2 separate regions of the Homo sapiens genome follow, and region 1 is linked to region 2. Evidence: promoter capture Hi-C in human tissues and cell types (Jung and others, 2019). All regions are on one chromosome and are shown on one strand. Each heading gives the region's core, a stretch centred on a gene start or on the middle of the fragment in contact. The rest is flanking DNA. Distances are from core to core; before and after follow the strand shown.

The links. Contacts are between HindIII fragments. The study calls those that stand out against the background at their distance.
Region 1: a contact is called between the fragment with the promoter of DPRX here and a fragment that was not itself captured in region 2, in 4 of the 25 tissues and cell types used here (dorsolateral prefrontal cortex, heart left ventricle, mesenchymal stem cells and 1 more).

The regions. Positions count from the first base shown.
Region 1 is chr19:53,630,223-53,635,330 of GRCh38, forward strand. It overlaps DPRX (divergent-paired related homeobox), which reads left to right and starts at 1,777. Exons shown (of 3, transcript NM_001012728.2): 1 at 1,777-1,912; 2 at 4,309-4,463. The coding sequence starts at 1,885. The HindIII fragment of the contact is 20,441 bases long and covers 1-5,108 here.
Region 2 is chr19:53,377,880-53,382,658 of GRCh38, forward strand. It overlaps ZNF525 (zinc finger protein 525), which reads left to right. Exons shown (of 4, transcript NM_001348156.2): 4 at 2,843-4,779. The coding sequence ends at 4,140. Among named protein-coding and RNA genes, the nearest start is that of ZNF525, 15 kb to the left of the region's middle. The HindIII fragment of the contact is 5,110 bases long and covers 450-4,779 here.

The DNA of each region.
Region 1 (5,108 bases), core at 527-3,026, 250 kb after region 2:
AAAAAAACTTTCATGCTGATCAGTAGTGGAATCAGCTTGTGAATTGCCCTCCAGCCTGAGCAACACAGACTGCCTCTTACTAATCCCAGCACTTTGGGAGGCTGAGGTGGGAGGATGGCTTGTGCCTAAGACTTTGAGACTAGCCTAGCCAAAATCCCTTCTCTACAAAAAATGCAAAAATTAGCTGGGTATGGTAGTGTGCACCTGTAGTCCCAGTTACTCAGGAGGCTTAGGTGAGAGGCTCACCTAGGCCCAGGAGGTTAAGGCTGCATTGAGCTATGATTTTGCCACTGCACTCCAGGCTGGGCCTAGGCCTTTGTAGTCACAGCTACTTGGGGGCAAATGTAGGAGGATCACTTGAGCCCAGTAGGTCGAGGCTGCAGTCAGCTGTGTTTTTTGAGACATAGCAAGACCCTGTCTCAAAAAGAAAAAAAAAAGTAGCTACAAGCTCATTTATGCAAAGGCTAACCACTGTCACAAGTAGAGATGTGCAGAACTGAGATTCAAATGGATGGAATGGCAAGAAAAACTGCCACTTCTGTGAACCTGAAGTCAAACTGCCCTTGTCGTCAAGATAAAAGGTATACATGGTGTGAGCCTGGGCATCTGAAAGGTGTTGCAGCTTTTTCTTTTATTTTTTTGAGATGGAGTCTCACTCCTGTCACCCAGGCTGGAGTGCAGTGGTGCGATCTCAGCTCACTGCAACCTCTGCCTCCTGGGTTCAAGCAATTCTCCTGCCTCAGCCTCCTGAGTAGCTGGGATTACAGGTGCCCACCACCACACCCAGCTAATTTTCGTATTTTTAGTAGAGATGGGGTTTCGCCATGTTGGCCAGGCTGGTCTCGAACTCCTGACCTCAGGTGATCCGCCTGCCTCAGCCTCCCAAAGTGCTGGGATTACAGGTGTGAGCCACCTGTAATTAGCCAGGCTTGGTGGTGGGTGCCTGTAATCCCAGCTACTGGGAAGGCTGAGGCAGGAGAATTGCTTGAACCTGAGAGGCGGAGGTTGCTGTGAGCCGAGATCGTGCCACTGCACTCCAGCCTGGGTGACAGAGTGAGACTCCATCTCTAAATAAATAAATAAATAAATAAAATGAGATGATTTCTGAGTGAGTTAACTAAATCAGGATATGCAGAACAATGCCAAGCATATATTAGCCACTAAAGAATATATAAGTTGCCTGAAAGCCCCTTTAGGGTTTAAACCTGGACTTCATTATTCACAATCACATTCCCGGTCCCCATTACGGAGCCTGGTCACCTGGGTGCTTGTTAGATATGGAAATCATCAGATCCCACCCCAGACCGAGTCAGAAACGTTGAGGGCAGGAGTTCAAGACCAGCCTGGCCAACATGGCGGAAACTCCGTCTCTACTAAAAATACAAAAATTAGTCAGGAGTGGTGGCACAGGCCTGTGATCTCAGCTACTCGGGAGGCTGAGACATGAGAATCCCTTGAACCTGGGAGGCAGAGGCTGCAGTGAGCCAAGATGGTGTCATTGCGCTCCAGCCTGGGTGACAGAGTGGGACTCTGTCTCAAAGAAAAAGAAAAAAAGAAAAGAAATTGCAGCTTCTGCTCAGGAAGTCTGGAGTGGGCCAGGATTCTGCATTTTAACAACTCCCAGGAGTGTTAGTGGGGCTGGTTTGTGGACTCGCCTTTGAGTCGTTGGTCTCCGCTCAATCAATATTAGATAAAATGACAGTATTGGGAGAAATCCAGGGGGCTCTGGAGGACCGAGGGATCATATTGGAGGCAGATAGGGCAGAGAAAGGTGGAGGAGGTGGGAGTCGGGTGTGGCTGTGGAGGAAGCTACTTAAATCCGGATTTGATCTTTGCTAGTTCTTATCCCTGGACCTGAACCCAGGCGCACATCTGGATTAGAAGATGCCAGGCTCAGAGGATCTTCGTAAAGGTAAGCCAGAAAAAATGAGAACCGAAGCAAAGACACGTGAAGAAGTGGAAAGCAGCTGGCGGCGGGAAAAGGCAGAGGGACCAGGCGGCCGAAGCTGGTGCTTCGTCCACGTGGGTGGCAGGGACTTCCCACAGAGGCTGTCATCGTTTTTGTTGTTGTTGTTTTGTTTTGTTTTGTTTGTCTTTTGAGACAGTCTCACTCTGTCGCTCAGGCTGGAGTGCAGTGGCACGATTTCGGCTCACTGCAACCTCCACCTCCCAGGTTCAAGCAATTCTCCTGCCTCAGCCTCCCGAGTAGCTGGGATGACAGGCACACGCCACCACACCTGGCTAATTTTTTTTTTTTTTGTATTTTTAGTAGAGCCGGGGGTTTCACCATATTGACCAGGCTGGTCTCGAACTCCTGACCTTGTGATCCGTCTGGCTCAGCCTCCCAAAGTGCTGGGGTGACAGGCGTGAGCCACTGCACCCGGCCCAAGTTTTGTATCTTTATAGAGATGGGGTTTCACCATGTTAGCTAGGTTGGTCTCAAGCCCCTGACCTCATGTGATTGGCTGGCCTCGGCCTCCCAAAGTGCTGGGATTACAGGCATGAGCCTCGGTGCCCGGCCGCGGCTGTCATCTGACAGCACAGGCAAATGCAGGGAAGCCTGTTTCTGCCTTCAAATCCGAAATCTTCTCCCTCGTAGTTGTGTCCTAATTCTTCCCACCCCGATGCTTGTTCTTGAGCACAGGGGAATCTGATTCCTATGAGGATGATTAGGTCCTAGATAGAATATAGGCTTAGCCAAGCTGGAAATCTCATGTTCATGAGCACTTACTAGACTCTGGAGCTGCTGCCAAACCATTTTCAGGCATGATGCGATTCAGATCTTTTAGAGCGAGGCATGCGGTGGCTCATGCCTGTAATCCCAGCACTTTGGGAGGCCGAGGTGGGCAGATCGCTTCAGCCCAGGAGTTCAAGACCAGCCTGGGCAACAAAACAAGACGTTGTCTCTACAAAAAATACAAAAATTAGCCGGGCATGTCAGTGTTGTGTAGTTCCAGCTACTCGGGAGGCTGAGGTGAGAGGATCGCTTGAGCCTGGGGAGGTTGAGGCTGAAGTGAGCTGTGATCATGCCACTGGGCAACACAGCAGTACACTGTCTCAAGAAAAAGAAAGTAAAAGGTGACATCCGTGACAGCAGTGATGTTATTTTTCTGCTTATTTCCTTGCTATATTCCTAAAAGAATATACTTAATGAACATTGAATAAATGATAAGAATAAAACCATGTCCATCCATTTCACCTTGGATTGAGTTGCCTATTTCTACACAAAGAAAATAGAACCCAAGAGGTAAGGCACAAGCGATCCCTTATTTACGTATTTATTTATTTATTTATTTATTATTTTCTTGAGACAGGGTCTCCCTCTGTCTCAGGCTGGAGTGCAGTGGCATAATCTCGGCTCACCACAGCCTCTGCCTCTGAGGTTCAAGCGATTCTCCTGCCTCAGCCTCCCGAGTAGCTGGGACTACAGGCGTGCACCATCACGCCCAGCTAATTTTTGTACTTTTAGTAGAGACAGGGTTTCACCATGTTAGCCAGAATGGTCTTGATCTCTTGACCTCATGATCCGCCCGCCTTGGCCTCCCAAAGTGCTGGGATTACAGGCATGAGCCACTGTGCCCGGCCAAATTTTTGTGTTTTTAATAGAGATGGGGTTTCACCATGCTGGCCAGGCTGGTCTCAAACTCATGACCTGATATGATCTGCCCGCCCTGGCCTCCCAAAGTGCTGGGATTACAGGCGTGAGCAAGGGATCCCATATTTAAATGATAACAGAAAAAAAGGATGGAGGAACCAAGGGGGAAAGGAACAACCTTTTCCTATGAAAATGACAAATGAGGCTTGGAAAAACAAGGACAAAAGGCAGATCAAGTTGTCCTCCCGCTTCAGCCTCCCACAGTACTGGGACTGCAGCCTGAGGCACGACCCCGGCCAGCAGTGTCTCCATATCTAAGAACCTCAGTCACGGCCGGGCACAGTGGCTCACGCATGTAATCCCAACACTTTGGGAGGCCGAGGCGGGTGGATCACCTGAGGTCAGGAGTTCGAGACCAGCCTAGCCAACATGGTGAAACCCTGTCTCTGCTAGAAATACAAAAATTATCCGGGCATGGTGGCGTGCGCCTGTAATCCCAGCTACTCGGGAGGCTGAGGCAGGAGAATCGCTTGAACTCAGGAGGTGGAGGTTGCAGTGAGCTGAGATTGTGCCACTGCACTCCAGCCTCGGTGACAGAACCTCAGTCACTTGATCATCACGTTGTACCTCAGTGGAAAGGAAAGGAAAGCTCAGGCTTTTGAGAATGGAGTTGTTAGCATTTCCCATTTGTGTCTTTTTCCTCCTCTTTCAAGGCAAGGACCAGATGCATTCACACAGGAAACGAACCATGTTCACTAAGAAGCAACTGGAAGATCTGAACATCTTGTTCAATGAGAACCCATACCCAAACCCCAGCCTTCAGAAAGAAATGGCCTCGAAAATAGACATACACCCAACAGTACTGCAGGTTGGAAAATGATCCCTCTTCTCACTAAACTGCCTTCCTGATCTAATCTAAATTCAGAGTCCCTCTAGGATAATTCCTGAGGTCTCATTCCAATCGCCAATATTCCCCAAACCCACACTCTCCTACTCACGTCCCCGTAAACCTTTCTTCAACCCCCTAGAGCAAGAATGGGAAAATTTTTCCAGTAAAGGACCAGGTAGTAAATAATTGAAGCTTTGTGGGCCATACCGTCTCTCTAGCAACTATTTTAACTATGCCACCACAGTGCGAAGGCAGCCACAGACAACGTAAACAAGAGGCCCATCTGTGTTCCCAGAAACTCTTTTACTCAGGTTGGAGCACGGTGGTGCAATCACAGCTCACTGCAGCCTCGACCTCCCGGGCTCAAGCAATCCTACCACCTCAGCACCCCAAGTAGCTGGGACTACAGGTCTACAGGTGCACACTACGCCTCCCAAAGTGTTGGGATTACAAGCATGAGCCCGGCTGTATTTTATTTTTTGTAGAGATGGGGTTTCGCTATATTGCCCAGGAGGCTGATCTTGAACTCCTGGTCTCAAGTGATTCACCTGCCTTGGCCTCCCAAAGTGTCAGGATTATAGGCATAAGCCACTGCGCCTGGCCTGAAGTTTATACAATTTTCAC
Region 2 (4,779 bases), core at 1,755-4,254:
ATGTTATTGCTATTAGATGGCTTCAAGTATTGCAAAATTTATAGTACAGGCCCTAAACTTCCTTTGTTTAATTAGATTTGTCAGCCTTCAGTGATGTGAATCATGAGATGCTTCTTTTCCTGTCTCAGTCATTTCACTGTCCTGTCAGAAATAGCTTAGACTGGCCAGCTGAGGTGGGTCATGCCTTAATCCCAGCAGTTTGGGATGCTGAGGTGGGCAGATAGCTTGAAGTCAGGAGTTTGAGACCAGTCTGGCCAACATGGTGAAACCTCGAATCTACTAAATACAAGAAATTGGCTAGGTGTAGTGGCTCAAGCCTGTAATCCCAGCACTTTGGGAGGCCGAGAGGGGCGGATCACCTGAGTTAAGGAATTTGAGACCAGCCTGACCAACATGGTGAAACCCTGTCTCTACTAAAAATACAAGAATTAGCTGGGCGTGGTGGCACATGGCTGTTATCCCAAGTACTCGAGAGGCTGAGGAAGGAGAATCTTGAACCCGGGAGGTGGAGGTTGTAGTGAGCCAAGGTTACACCACTGCACTCCAGTCTGGGCACCAAAGTGAGACTACAGGCTGAGGCGGGAGAATCTCTTGAGGCAGGAGAATCGTGCCACTACACTCCAGCCTGGGTGATAGAGCGTGACTCGGTCTCAAAAACAAACAAAAAAAGAAATAGCTTAAACTGGGAGGCTTAAGACACAGAAATTTATTTCTCATGAGTTTGGAAAGTGGGAAATCCAAGAGCAAGGTGCCAGCCACATTGGTTCCTGGTGAGAGCCTTCCTCATGGTTTAGCCCAGCCATCTTCCTGCCATGTCCTGACATGGTGGAAACAGGAACAGGCAACGAGCTCTTTAATGTCTCTTTTTATGAAAGCACAAGTCCTATTCACGAGTAGTCAACACCCGTGACCAAATTGTCTCAAAGGCCCCATCTGCAGGAACATCCTATTGGAGAATAAGAACTCTGAACATGGCGTTTGGCCAATACAAACATTCAGACCAGGGAGCCTGCATCATCTTATTTATGTTTTTATTGTTTAATTTGTTTCATACAATGTTTTCTCTGATCTCAGTTTATAAATTTTCCCAGTACACATTCTATGTTTTATATTTTATGCATAGTGAACTAGATACATAGGGCAATGTATATATATATATAGAATTGCTGTATTGCCTGGCTGTTTCATAAATGTAGTTGTGACATCATAATTGCACCCTCCGGCACTATTAGTCAATTCTTTTTTTTTTTCTTAGAGACGAAGTCTCACCCTGTCACTCAAGCTGGAGTGCAGTGGTGGGACCTTGGCTCACCACAAACTCTACCTCCTGGGTTCAAACGATTCTCTTGCCTCAGCCTTCTGAGTAGCTGAGATTACAGGCACCCGCCACCACACCCAGCTAATTTTTTTGTATTTTTAGTAGAGTTATGGTTTCACCACGTTGGCCAGGCTATTCTTGAACTCCTGACCTCATGGTCTTCCCACCTCGGCCTCCCAAAGTGCTGGAATTACAGGCATGAGCCACTGCACCCGGCTGTTAGTGAATTCTTATTCATTATAATGCTGCATATTTTTTTGACCTCATACATCAGAAGGTAGTGATCTTAACATGTATTTCAGTTCTTATATTGTGTGCTGGTGGTAAGTAGAAGTTGTGCTTTTTTCTTAACAGGGAATTGTTTAGAATTCTGCAGTTTGTATAAATGTACTTATGATTTGCTTGCTGGTTTTATGCGTTACAGTTATTTTACCAATTCATTTTTATGATTTTACATAAAGCTTTTCGGTATGTGGTATGCAATATAACTGACACAGTTTACTAGTTAATGTCACAAAGTGCCAGCGGGTGCTGTGGCTCACGCCTGCAATCCCAGGACTTTGGGAGGCTGAGGCGGGTGGATCACTTGAGGTCAAAAGTTCAAGGCCAGCCTGGCCAATATGATGTAACCCTATCTCTACTAAAAATACAAAAATTAGCCAAGCATGCTGGCATGTGCCTGTAATCCCATGTACTCAGGAGGCTGAGGCAGGAGAATGGCTTGAACCCAAAAGGTGGAGGTTGCAGTGAGCTGAGATCAGGCCATTGCCCTCCAGCCTGTTGTGACACAGTGAAACATTGTCTCAAAAATACAAAAATAAAAAAAAAATTTTAAATGTTACAATATGCCTTTTCTGCATGGATATAGGTAATTTTATGACAGTTATTCAGAAAAATATTTTTTTTTTTTTGAGATGGAGTCTCACTTTGTCATCCAGGCTGAAGTACAGTGGTGCGATCTCGGCTCACTGCAACCTCTGCCTCTTGGGTTCAAGCAATTCTTGTACCTCACCCTTGCGAGTAGCTGGGAGTACAGACGTGCACCACCATGCCTTGCTAAATTTTGTAAACTTTTCTTATCTTCTCAGTGCTATGATTATTTAACAATACAGAATTTCCATTGATTTTGGTTATCCTTACATGAGCTTGCTGTGGATTATTTACCAGTATATTATATTGTGTGGTCCTTTAGTATTTATTTGTATACAGTAAGTATGCTGTAAATATGAAGAATATATACTTTTCATTGATGTGACAGTGATATGTCTTTTGCAAACTGTTAGACACTTTAGGGTCACAGTGGAAAAATACTCCTTATTTTAGGCTTACACATGTTTGTGCCCTTCAGTGTTTTGTCATGATATTGGAAATAAGCTTTCATAATAATAATTTGAAGCACATGTAATCGCCCTTTATTTATTAAAGAATCTTACGATTTTGTGTTCCTAAACTTTGAAGATCATGTTTGGGAAGTTTAAAATCAGTATTGTCTTTTGTGTACCTATTAGTGTTTATATTTTGTAGGTATCTCTTCCAAATGCACAATGAAGGAGTTCTCATCAACAGCACAAGGCAATACAGAAGTGATCCACACAGGGACATTGCAAAGACATGAACGTCATCACATTGGAGATTTTTCCTTCCAGGAAATTGAGAAAGATATTCATAACTTTGAGTTTCAGTGGCAAGAAGATGAAAGAAATGGCCATGAAGCACCCATGACAAAAATCAAAAAATTGATGGGTAGTACAGAGCAATATGATCACAGGCATGCTGGAAACAAGCCTATTAAATATCAGCTTGGATCAAGCTTTCATTCACATCTGTCTGAACTCCACATATTTCAGCCCAAAGGGAAAATTAATAATCAAGTGGAGAAGTCTATCAACGATGCTTCCTCGGTTTCAACAGCCCAAAGAATTTCTTGTAGGCCCAAAACCCATATATCTAATAACTATGGGGATAATTTTCTGAATTATTCATTACTCACACAAAGACAGGAAGTACGCATGAGAGAAAAATCTTTCCAATGTATTGAGAGTGGCAAAGCCTTTAATTATAGCTCACTCTTAAGGAAACATCAGATTATTCATCTAGGAGAGAAACAATATAAATGTGATGTATGTGACAAGGTCTTTATTCGGAAGCGATACCTTGCACGCCATCGTAGATGTCACACTGGTGAGAAACCTTACAAGTGTAATGAGTGTGGCAAGTCCTTCAGTCAGATGTCATCCCTTACATATCATCATCGACTTCATACTGGAGAGAAACCTTACAAATGTGAAGAATGTGACAAAGCTTTCAGACACAATTCAGCCCTTCAAAGACATAGGAGAATTCATACTGGAGAGAAACCACATAAGTGTAATGAGTGTGGCAAGACCTTTAGTCAGAAGTCATACCTTGCATGCCATCGTAGCATTCATACTGGAAAGAAACCTTACGAATGTGAAGAATGTGACAAAGCTTTCAGTTTCAAATCAAACCTTGAAAGTCATAGGATAACTCATACTGGAGAGAAACCATACAAGTGTAATGATTGTGGCAAGACCTTCAGTCATATGTCAACCCTTACATGCCATCGTAGACTTCATACTGGAGAGAAACCTTACAAGTGTGAAGAATGTGATGAAGCTTTCCGTTTCAAATCAAGTCTTGAAAGACATAGGAGAATTCATAATGGAGAGAAACTGTACAAATGTAATGAGTGTGGCAAGACCTTCAGTCAGGAGTTATCCCTTACCTGCCATTGTAGACTTCATAGTGGAGAGAAACCTTGCAAGTGTGGAGAATGTGACAAGGCTTACAGTTTCAAATAAAATCTTGAAATACGTCAGAAAATTCATACTGGAGAGAAATGTTATAAGTGTAATGATTGTGGCAAGATCTTCAGTCATACGTCATCCATTGTATACCATCATAAATTTCATAGTGGAGAGAAACCTTACAAATGTGAAGAATGTGATGAAGCTTTCAGTTTCAAATCAAACCTTGAAAGACATAGGAGAATTCACACTGGTGAGAAACCTTACAGGTGTAATAGGTGTGGCAAGACCTTCAGTCATACATCATCCCTTACATGCCATCATAGACTTCATACTGGAGAGAAACCTTACAAATGTGAAGAATGTGATGAAACTTTCAGATACAAATCAAATCTTGAAAGACATAGGAGAATTCATAATGGAGAGAAACCGTACAAGTGTAATGAGTGTGGCAAGACCTTCAGTCAGAAGTCATGCCTTACACGCCATCATAGACTTCATACTGGAAATAAATCTTATAAGTGTAATGAGTGTGGCAAGACCTTCAGTAAGGAGTTAACACATGCCATCATAGACGTCATACTGGAGAGAAACCTTAGAAGTGCAATGAGTGTGGCAAAACCTTTCATAGGCAGTCAGCGCTTATTTACCATCAAGCAATCCATGGCAGAGGGAAACTTTACAAATGTAATG